Linked DNA regions of Homo sapiens: regions 1, 2 and 3 are each linked to region 4. Evidence: promoter capture Hi-C in 16 types of primary human blood cells and fetal thymus (Javierre and others, 2016). All regions are on one chromosome and are shown on one strand. Each heading gives the region's core, a stretch centred on a gene start or on the middle of the fragment in contact. The rest is flanking DNA. Distances are from core to core; before and after follow the strand shown.

Region 1 (2,766 bases), core at 248-2,747, 170 kb before region 4:
GAGAAGGGCGTGAACCCGGGAAGCGGAGCTTGCAGTGAGCCGAGATTGCGCCACTGCAGTCCGCAGTCCGGCCTGGGCGACAGAGCGAGACTCCGTCGCAAAAAAAAAAAAAAAAAAAAAAAAAAAAAAAAAAAAGTGGGGCCGGGCCCGGTGGCTCACGCCTGTAATCCTAGCACTTTGGGAAGCCAAGGAGGGCAGATCACGAGGTCAGGAGATCAAGACCATCCTGGCTAACACAGTGAAACCTCGTCTCTACTAAAAATACAAAAGATTAGACGGGCGTGTTGGCACCTGTAGTCCCAGCTACTCAGGAGGCTGAGGCAGAAGAATGACATGAACCCGGGAGGCGGAGCTTGCAGTGAGCCGAGATTGCGCCACTGCACTGCAGCCTGGGTGACAGAGCGAGACTCCACCTCAAAAAAAAAATGTGAAACAAAACTTTACTGCTCATAGCAATGACAGGTATGCTCCAGGAGGGAAGGAAGAGGGGACAATATCTGACTGAAGGGCCACAGAAGCCACTGTAGGAGACTATGCAGAACTCCCCACAGGAGTCAGGTGGGTAGTCAGGGCTATCCATGGTATGGGTCTATGTTCACTTCCCTGTGGCAACAGTCTTAAGCCTCTCTGATTTACTGTAATACTTTACTTCTCACATTTAGGTTAAGAAAAGAATTTTTACTTCTTCCAAAAAGAAAGAATTCTAGCCTTCAGCTAAAAATAACTCAAGTAATATGAAAAATATGAAGGGAGGAAAACCATTAAGTTCCTGACAATGTGTTAAGAAAACTATTTGTAAATCATCTTTGATCTTTTTATGTTCCTCTAAGATCACAGAGGATGGGAGTGAGTGTTCATCGCAAATCTTCATGAAAAGTTCTGCAGAAGGCTGATATTTTCATTTGAAAAGTATTATTTTTAAATGTAAAATTTACACGTTCAGCTTTGTGTTCAATACTATAAACTAGGACTTCTTTTAGGCTGGCAACAAATAAGAAAGCTACAACTAATTTTCTTCGCTTTTTTTTTTTTTTTTTTTTTTTAAGAGACAGGATCTCTCTGTCACCCAGGCTGGAGTGCAGTGGCACAATCACGGCTCACTGCAGCCTCAACCTTCTGGGCTCAAGGGATCCTCCTGCCTCAGCCTCCACAGTAGCTAGGACAGAGGTGCAAGCCACCATGCCCAGCTAATTTTTTTTTTTTTAAGAGACAGGGTCTTACTGTATTGCCCAGGCTGGTCACAAACTCCTGGGTTCAAGCAATCCTCCTGAGAAAGTTATGGCTAATTTTCCTTTGCATCTTCCATTCTGGTAAATATTGCAGCAAAGGCAAAGCAGCATCATAATTCTCTCTCTCAGGCAAGGAGTCTGATCTGCAGCGAAAGTAGGTATTTGCACTGAAAGCTTCTCCAACGTGCCAAGTACATCAGGGAGTGAGACTCAAATACTCACCCTGACCCGGCAGGGAGTGATGGCAGAGCTGAAGGAACATTAGCCTGTGGTTTTTCTTTCTCATTCTGCTTGAAGAAGGATTTGGCCTCTTTAGATGTAGCATCCACTTCCTTAGTTACCCTGTGCCAAGGAAAAAGACATCAAGCTTACAAGAAGAATAAAGAGAAAGAAACAAGCTAGAAAAGGGAATAAAGACAACTAGAAAAAGATCCACTCGGCTTCCAATAAATTCTGGACGCTCAGCATTATGATAAAAGTTTACTATAACTTTCAATAAAGACATTTGCCCAGCCGGGCGTGGTGACTCACGCCTGTACTCCCAGCACTTTGGGAGGCCGAGGCAGGCGGATCACAAGGTCAAGAGATCGAAACTATCCTGGCCAACATGGTGAAATCCCGTCTCTATTAAAAATATAAAAATTAGCTGGGCGTGGTGGCGGGCGCCTGTAGTCCCAGCTACTCGGGAGGCTGAGGCAGCAGAATCACTTGAACCCGGGAGGCAGAGGTTGCAGTGAGCCGAGATCACGCCATTGCACTCCAGCCTGGGCAACAGCACGAGACACCGTCTCAAAAAAATAAAAAAAATAAAAAAACATTTTCCCTCACTAAAATTAACAAATGAAACAACAATGTGTATAAATTTTATCACCCTATAACAACCCAAAGATGAAACAAAATCCCCTAAAACTGGCTAAATTAGCAATAATTTGGGAATGGACGAAAGCAACATGACTGAGAATTTTGTCTAATTTCAAATCTGAAACAATTATCTTCACTAAAACTGAGTCCTAAAGGTTCAAATAAAGGTGTTTATGGTACCTGAGAATTCAGATAAAGAGAGAAGGAGAAATGTTTAATCCCTGCCTAGGCTTTCCAGGTTAACGAAAACACCTGAGGAATGTTGTTTAAATGCAGTCCATCTCCCCTCCATGACTTCTCAGCATGAAACACACTGCAGCAGTCAATACTAAATCTCCATGCTGGTTTACTGATGTGAAGGCTGAAAAAGGCCCTCACACTGCACCCCACATGCAGATTAGCACTCAGCCTTGAAAGCTGAGATGGGGAGATGGAATACTGGGAATATAGGTTATAGAATTGGGAAATAATGCCTAGGTTGGCACTATTTCAAGGAGAAAAACAAGAGTTAAAAAAAAAAATTTGAGGAGACCAGGCACAGTGGCCCATGCCTGTAATCCCAGCACTTTGGGAGGCCAAGGCAGGCGGACCACGAAGTCATGAGTTTGAGACCAGCCTGGCCAACATGGTGAAACCCTGTCTCTACTAAAAATACAAAAAATTAGCCAGGCATAGT
Region 2 (2,700 bases), core at 53-2,552, 190 kb before region 4:
ACCCTGGAGGTGGAGGTTGCAATGAACCGAGATCGCGCCACTGCACTCCCGAGACTGTCTCAAAATAAAATAAAATAAAATAAATTATAGAATATTCAAAGTAGAACACTATACTAGCCATTAACAAGAATCAGATAAATGTATAGGCAATAAGATGAAATATGTTAGTATATGTATTTTTGTATTTTCAAGCAAAAAATACAAACTTCAGGAAAATAGGCTTAGATTACTCCATTTATATAAATAAAAAACACTTATATGTGAACAGAAAAGTATCTCATACAGATACACATTCATATACATAGATTACTAAATGCTTAGGGAAAGGTCTAGGACAGAGCTGTCAAATAGAAATAAAATGGGCGGGGCATAGTGGCTCACACCTGTAGTCCCAGCACTTTGGGAGGCTGAGAAGGGAGGATCAGTTGATCCCCGGAGTTTGAGACCAGCCTGGGCAACATAGTGAGACCCCATCTCTTAAAAAAAAAACACACAGAAATAAAATGGGAACCACATACCTAGTTTAAAAACATATTTTAGCCCTATTAAATATAAAAAGAAACAACTGAAATTGTTTTTAATACATTTAACCCAATATGTCAGAAATGTTACTGTTTCAACAATGGAACTGAAATAAAAATTGACTGCTTATTTTTTCTTACTAATTCTTCAAAATTTAGTGTGTATTTATACCTATAGCACATCTCAATTCAGACTGGTGGCATTTCAAGTGTTCAACAGCCACATATAGCTAGTGACTACTCTACTGAACAGTGGAGACCTTACAAAAACCCCACCAAATTATTAACTTTCATTTTGTCTTCTATATCTCTGTGTTGCTTGAATTTTTAGAAGAACACGCATATATTGCTTCTATGTTTCTAAAAAAAAAACCTAAATGTGTCCATATATGAAAATTAATTCAAGGTACAAAAAAAACCTAAACATAAAAGCCAGGACCATTAAAAAAAGGCAAAATCTTCTCAACCTTATAGGCAGATTTCTTAGGACACAAAAAGCACTAACTGTAAAAGACGAACTGAATATCAAAATTAAAAACTCTGCTCATCTAAACACACCACCAAAAAAATGAATAAGCAAGACAAACACTAAGAAAAATTCTTAGCATTTACATCTGACAAACTATCTATATTCAGAATATAAGAAGAACTCCTATAAACCAATAACAGAATAAAACAACCCAATAAAAATGGGTAAGATTGGAAGAGTCACTTTACACATGAAAAGATGTCATTATTATTAGTTTTCAGAGCAATGCAAACTAAAATCAGAGGAGATACCATTTCACACTTACCCAAATAAAAAAGACTGACAAGGCTGGGCGCGGTGGCTCATGCCTGTAATCCCAGCACTTTGGGAGGCCGAGGCGGGTGGATCACCTCAGGTCAGGAGTTCAAGACCACTCTGACTAATATGATGAAACCCCATCTCCACAAAAAATACAAAAATTAGCCAGGTGTGGTGGCATCCACCTGTAGTCCCAGCTACTCCAAGGCTGAGACAGGAGAATCGTTTAAACCCCAGAGGTGGAGGTTGCAGTGAGCTGAGATCATGCCACTGTGCTCCAGCCTGGGCGACAGAGCGAGACTCCATCTCAAAAAAAAAAAAAAAGACTGACAACATCACATGTGAACAAGGATACGTATGGACCAAGTAGAACCCTCATACATCACTGGCAAAATATAAAATGGTACAACCATCTTGAGGAACTGTTTGGCAGTTTCTTATAACATTAAGACTGAGCGTTGTGGCTCATGCCTATAATCCTTGCAGTTTGGGAGGCTGCAGCAGGAGGACTGCTTGAGCCTAGGAGTTTGAGACCAGCCTGCAACATGGGGAGACCCCATCTCTACAAAAAAATTAAAAATTAGCCAGACATAGTGGTGTGCACCTGTAGTCCCAGCTACTCGAGAGGCTGAGGTGGGAAGATCTCTTGAGCCACAGAGTTCAAGGCTGCAGTGAGCTGTGATTATGCCATTGCATTCCAGCCTGAGTGACAGAGCAAGACCCTGTCTCAGAAAAACCAAATCAAAACCAAAACAAAAACATTAAGCACACATCTACTCCATGACCTAGCAATTCCATTCCTAGGTATTTAGGTACCCAAGATAAATAAAAACATATGTCTTCAAAAAGATTTGGAAATAACCCATACGTTTATCAGCAGGATAGATGGATAAACTGTGGTATATATGAACAATTTATAAAAAGCAATGAACCACTGATATACACAGCAACATGATAAGTCTCAAATACATGTTCTTTCACTGTAGGTAAAAGAATCCAGGCACAAAAATTTAAAAAATGTATGCTTTGATTTCCATGACGTTCTGGAAAAGCAAAACTAATCTATCATGATAAAAATCAGTAGTTGCCTGGGGCAAAGAGCATAGGGCAAAAGCAACTGGAAAGGGGCATGAGGGAACTTTCTGGAGTGACGGAATCATACTATACCTTATCTTGGATAGTGGCTATGAAGTAGTAGGCAGGACAGGATTCCAGAGGCAGGGCTTGGATACCAAACCAAATTGATGACTAGCTAAAACAGGTATGGGGCAGAAGCGGCTTTCTGTAAGACACACCCACCAGTGTGCTATGTCAGTTTACCATTGGTATGACAACACCTGAGAGTTACCGCCCCTTCCCAGAGCAATGACCTGACGATCCAGAAGTTATTAC
Region 3 (2,700 bases), core at 46-2,545, 190 kb after region 4:
TACCATTTATAAAACCATTGGATCTAGTGAGAATCTATTCACTATCACAAGAACAGCATGGGGAAAACTGCCCCTATAATCCAATCACTTACCTCCCTCAACACATGGGGATTACAATTTGAGATGAGATCTGGGTGGGGACACAGAGCCAAACCATATCAGAGGGGGCAACACAGGAAGGCTGGCAGCTTGGTGTCTGAGGTCTTTTCCAACCCCGAGTCCAGTTTTATAAATGGGATGGGGAGAGGAATCCTGTGTTTTGTGAGTTGTGGGCCTAAGGAATATTATCGATGACACCCAGGGAAGAGCTGATTGTTAAGCACTTGCAGGTCCTTTGTATTGTTAAGGACAATCCAAGTCAGTGAAATAATCTCAGCCTCTGAGGACCAGTAGCTTTTCCATTAACACAAAAGCACCAAAGGTCTTCCCTGCTCAACACTGTGGTGCAGGAGGCCAGTGGCTATCCTACCATGTCTTTTTCCTTAACACCTCTTTCCTCTTTTCCCACAAACTTGAGCTTCCCCTGCCTTCTATATAAACTGCATTAATGAGTGGCTGTCTTGTGCTACCCAGAGGGAGTAAGATAATCTCTCTGCCACACCAGCCCATATGGTGCAGAGGATGATGCAGAAAATACACAAGGAATAAACACAGAAATATGATGATTCAGAAAGGATGAGTGCTATGAGGTAATAAATCGGACCAAAGGAATAGAAAATGTGTTAGTTCGTTCTCATACTGCTATAAAGAACTGCTCAAGACTGAGTAATTTATAAAAGAAAGAGGTTTAATTGACTCTGAGTTCTGCATGGCTGGGGAGGCCTCAGGAAGCTTACAATCATGGTGGAAGGTGAACGGGAAGCAAGGCACCTTCTTCACAAGGTGGCAGGAGGGATAGTGAATACAGGAAGAACTACCACTTATAAAACCATCGGATCTCGTGAGAACTCACTTACTATCATGAGAACAGTATGGGGGAAACTGCACCCATGAATCAATGACCTCCACCTGGTCTCTCTCTTAACACATGGGGTTATGGGGATTACAAGGGGGATTCAAGATGAGATTTGGGTGGGATCACAGAGCCTAACCATATCAGAGAGGGATGAGGAAGCACCATCACTAAGCTACAGTGGTCAGGAAAGGGCACTTTAAGAAGACGTGATTAGAGTTGGTATCTAAATGAAGGAGGCAGCCACCACATATGTGGTGTAAAGGTATTCTCGGCAGAGGAAATGCCCAGTGCAAAATTCTGAGACTTAGTGAGCCTGCCATGCTAACTGGACAAAATCGTGGTCAGTGGAGTCACAGGAGGTGCTTGGGTAGGTATACACCTGCAAGGACCAGGGCATGGACAACCTCATGGGCCAGGAGAGCATAGATTTGAGTCTCAGTGTAAGTTGTAGGCACTGGAGGGCTTTGAGCAGCATGGCCCATGGTCTTATTTATGGTTTTTAAATGCTGACATTGGCCTCACAGTCGTAAAGGTGAGACAGTTCAGGGAGGAGATAGGGAAAGGGTTGATTACTTAGCCTTTGTGGTCCTTCCAACTCTCAGTCCAGGCTTGTGATGGGGCAGAGAGGACACAGAACAGGGAAGAGAATCAGGGATCCTCGAAAAGTGTTCACATAATTTTGTCTGGGGCTGGTCCTCACTGAAGAGTGTTGGCTTTGACCTGTAAACCCACTTGAGACACCCTTCAGAGTCAAGGTTAAGGTGGCTTCCCGGTGGACACCCCAAGGGAGTTTGGGGTGAGAAGGAAGCTTGTGCTCTCAGGGTTAAATATAATTTGCATTTACATCATGCACATTTTAAAACTGCAATCCTAAACATTGTAATCCTATCAGGTCTTCTTTCGAGATGTGTAATTATTAATACATTAAATTATGGCAATAAAACCAATAGAGAAACAAATAAAATTATTTAAAAAGTAAGTTGGAATAAAATAGTTGCTGTTTTCCTGAATTATTTTAGAGGCTTTGCTAAAAACAACATAAAACTGTAATTATGCTACTTACAAATAGAATAAAATGGAAGTAATTAATTTATTAGTGTTGTTATTGAAATAATCTACAGGCAGAGCACATTATGAAGCAGAATCCTGTCTTTTTTCATCTTATACATGATATAATCACTCACTGGCAATAAAACTAAAATAGAAAATATGAAAATTATTGTAGAGCAGAGGAAAAGGGCTCTTGTGGTTGTGGTTGTGTAGTAGCATGCTCAGTGGGAGGTGGGATCTATCCAGGGGTGACTCACTTTCGTTTTCAGGCTGAGTGGACAGTGCTTGGTGTCCAACATTTCTTGTGGCCAGAGGAGAATGGGGAGGATGTGTCCAGCCAGGGAAGCTCCCTGGTGAAAAGGATTCCTAGGCAATTGTGTCCTGGATTTCTGGAACAGGGGAAGAGCAGAGGTTTCTTTTCTTAGGACCTGTCCCTTTAAGACTCTCTAAACATCTGAGGTCTGACAAGGGGAGGAGGTGGAGGACCAGGGCCTGGACCAGTGGAACTGTGGTCTAGTGGTCATGTTGAATAGAAGGAAGGTCCTGAGCTGTGGCAGCCAGCACCAGGAGCATCAGGTCATGCTCTTTGTGGACCTTGTGAAGGATCTGTTGAGTCAGGGTGGAGTTGACCTGAGGGAGGCCTCTTTCTCCTGGGATCCTGACCTTGGGAGGAATGCTGGGTCTCCCATGAGTCA
Region 4 (2,700 bases), core at 184-2,683:
AGAATGAAGCTAGATTCCACAGCATCGATCAGGAATTTCCAGTGTAGGAAATGATGAACTACCACATTCAAACATACAGGCTTTACAGGTGCATCAGAATCACAAGCACGTGGCAGGGTTCATGTGCCCAATTAAGTGAATATTCCTGCTACATGTTCAGCAGCTTATAAACAGATGGTGACCCAGACCAGACTGCCTTGATGAGTCTGCTTGGAAAAAAGGCATTACATCACTGATTGGAGAACCTCAAAGCATATGTCCGGGCAGGTGACACACACACAGCTCAGGCTGTGATTGCTAAACCACTCCCACAGCCAAATAAGGAAACCCATCTCATGACCAGCTCTCAGGGGAATTCTCCGAGTCTGACAGTCACCTCTAACTCCTCTGCCAGTTAAAATTAAGGGGTCTGTGATCAGTGATGTTACACTCCTCAAATGTGCATTTTTTTTTGAGGCGGAGTCTTGCTCTGTTGCCCAGGCTGGAGTGCAGTGGTGTGATCTCGGCTCACTGCCACCTCCACCTCCCTGGTTCAAACGATTCTCCTGCCTCAGCCTCCCGAGGAGCTGGGACTACAGGCGCCCACTACCATGCCTGGCTAATTTTTGTATTTTTAGTAGAGACGGGGTTTCACCATGTTGGCCAGGCTGGTCTTCAACTCCTGACCTCAGGTGATCCACCCGCGTCGGCCTCCCAAAGTGTTGGGATTACAGGCGTGAGCCACCGTACCCCGCCTCAAATGTGCATTTGTGATACCTTTTCGTAAATGTTTATTCAAATATTTATTCACGAATAAAGGAAGAAAACGGGATTTGTTTAAATTCAATTTCTAGGTCCAAGACAACCTACTACGGCTGTCCCTAATACGGACCTCCGGGTTGTCCTCAGTGCCGCTTCCAACAGTGTCCTCAAACACCCTCCCCTCCCATAATGAGCCCCCAACCTGTCACCACTCCGAGCAATACTCCCCAAACTGTCAACGCCCTAAACAGCTCCCTTGTTATCGCCAAGCTCTAGAAAGCCCTCCTTATGTCATTCTTACCCCTAAAGACCGTTCTTGTCACCAATTCCCCAGACTTCCCCTATGAACCGCTCTAAGAGCCCTCAGCTATCAGCCACACCCCCAAACAGCCCTCAGTAAGAGCCCTACACTATCAGCCAGACGTTTTCCGCCACCAACGCTCCCGAGACCCCACTCCTGTCACCAGTTCCCCGAACATTCCTGCGAGCAATGTCGCAGATACTGCTCACAGACGTCCCCATAACCAACTTCTTCGCCACCGCAGCCCAGGAGCCCCCAAAGGGGTCCTCCGCGGCCCCGCCCCTTTACGTGCGGCCCCGCCCCTTGGCGTGGCGCCCTGACAAATGGCGCCGGAAGCCCCGCCCCCGGCCGGTTGCTAGGCTCCGACAGCCGGAAGTCCCGCCTGCCGTGTAGTCGCCGCCGTCGCTGCCGCTGCCGCTGCCGCCGTCGTTGTTGTTGTGCTCGGTGCGCTGAGCTCCGCGGCTCCGCGAGCCGGTTCCGTCCCCTTCCCGCCGCCGCCATGAAGTGGATGTTCAAGGAGGACCACTCGCTGGGTAAGCACTTGGTCGTCGGCCCGGCTGCTGGGGGCTGGGGCGGCGGGTGGGCCCCCTCCCCCACTCGGGCGGCCCTGGGCCGAGTGGAGCGGGGCGGATGCCCTGCTGCGGGCTGGAGTCGCCCATGCCCTGGTGCCTCGGGCAGCGGCCCCCTGACCCCATGTCACCCTCCGCGGGCCTTGCTGGGAGCTAGTAGGGGACAGGACCGCGGCCCCGGGGACGCCGGAACCAGGGCCTGGGTTGTACGCAGGGCGCAGGAGGAGGAGGGCCGGGGGCCGGGAACCGACCGGTGGGCAGGCGCGGCCGTCAGCCCCGTTTGTTTCTCCCACAGAACACAGATGCGTGGAGTCCGCGAAGATTCGAGCGAAATATCCCGACAGGGTTCCGGTGAGTGGACTCTCCGCCCCCTCACCTCGCTGTCACCTCTGTCGTCTGGGACCCGTGATAGGCCCCAGGCCATTCAACAGTTGACAAGTTGAGGTTCCAGTCCCAGTTACAGTAGCTGACGGGCCAGACCGGGATGAGGCCGCCCAGGGCCGGGGCGTGAGGGGCTCGGGCTGGTGCTGTTCAGGGTGCCTCAGTGCTGAATCTCCCGATCTAGGCCAGCGAGCCGTCTGCAGCCTCGGGGCTCCCTGGCCAATTATGTAAGGAACGATGTTCTAGGACAGGGCAACAGGTCACTGCCACTTTTGGGAATGGTGGTGGAGGGAGACTGTCATTTTGGTCTTGGAAGTGGTACTTGAGTCTCAGGACGTTCATCTTTTACTTTGTCTCCATCTTTACCTAACTTCTAGCTCCGTTATCTCACCTTGACCCTGTCATCCTTGCCTGACCAAAATAATGTGAAAAGCCGCTGAAAACCCCTTCTGCCATATTTTCTTCTTAGTCAATAATAAATATAATGTTATATTTCTTCCATGGTTGGGGAGATAGTTTTGTAATCGTTATTAATTTTTAATGGACATTAAGGCCTGTTATTGTAGCTCTTTGCTTGTGAATAATTTGTCTGGGGAAAGGAGTAGGAGGGACGGATTTGAAACTTGTTCAGAGAGGAGCAACAGGCCAAATGAAGAACTTGGTTCTTGGCTGGCTAAAATTCCAGGCATTCCAATTAGTCCATCCATT

The links. Contacts are between HindIII fragments. The CHiCAGO score rates a contact against its expected background, and 5 or more counts as called.
Region 1: a contact is called between a fragment that was not itself captured here and the fragment with the promoter of GABARAPL2 in region 4, in 1 of 17 cell types (naive B cells). The highest score is 5.1, in naive B cells.
Region 2: a contact is called between a fragment that was not itself captured here and the fragment with the promoter of GABARAPL2 in region 4, in 1 of 17 cell types (monocytes). The highest score is 5.7, in monocytes.
Region 3: a contact is called between a fragment that was not itself captured here and the fragment with the promoter of GABARAPL2 in region 4, in 4 of 17 cell types (naive B cells, total B cells, total CD8 T cells and 1 more). The highest score is 11.3, in naive B cells.

Annotation. Positions count from the first base shown.
Region 1 is chr16:75,393,639-75,396,404 of GRCh38, forward strand. It overlaps CFDP1 (craniofacial development protein 1), which reads right to left. Exons shown (of 7, transcript NM_006324.3): 5 at 1,452-1,571. Among named protein-coding and RNA genes, the nearest start is that of CFDP1, 38 kb to the right of the region's middle. The HindIII fragment of the contact is 193 bases long and covers 1,402-1,594 here.
Region 2 is chr16:75,374,174-75,376,873 of GRCh38, forward strand. The region is part of intron 5 of CFDP1 (craniofacial development protein 1); the gene reads right to left. Among named protein-coding and RNA genes, the nearest start is that of CFDP1, 58 kb to the right of the region's middle. RefSeq lists an enhancer at 2,434-2,700. The HindIII fragment of the contact is 4,084 bases long and covers 1-2,700 here.
Region 3 is chr16:75,756,138-75,758,837 of GRCh38, forward strand. No RefSeq gene overlaps it. Among named protein-coding and RNA genes, the nearest start is that of CPHXL, 31 kb to the left of the region's middle. RefSeq lists an enhancer at 2,127-2,176. The HindIII fragment of the contact is 932 bases long and covers 830-1,761 here.
Region 4 is chr16:75,564,946-75,567,645 of GRCh38, forward strand. GABARAPL2 (GABA type A receptor associated protein like 2) reads left to right here and starts at 1,434. Exons shown (of 4, transcript NM_007285.7): 1 at 1,434-1,575; 2 at 1,907-1,962. The coding sequence starts at 1,542. RefSeq lists a silencer at 1,497-1,906 and an enhancer at 1,896-2,649. The HindIII fragment of the contact is 5,212 bases long and covers 1-2,700 here.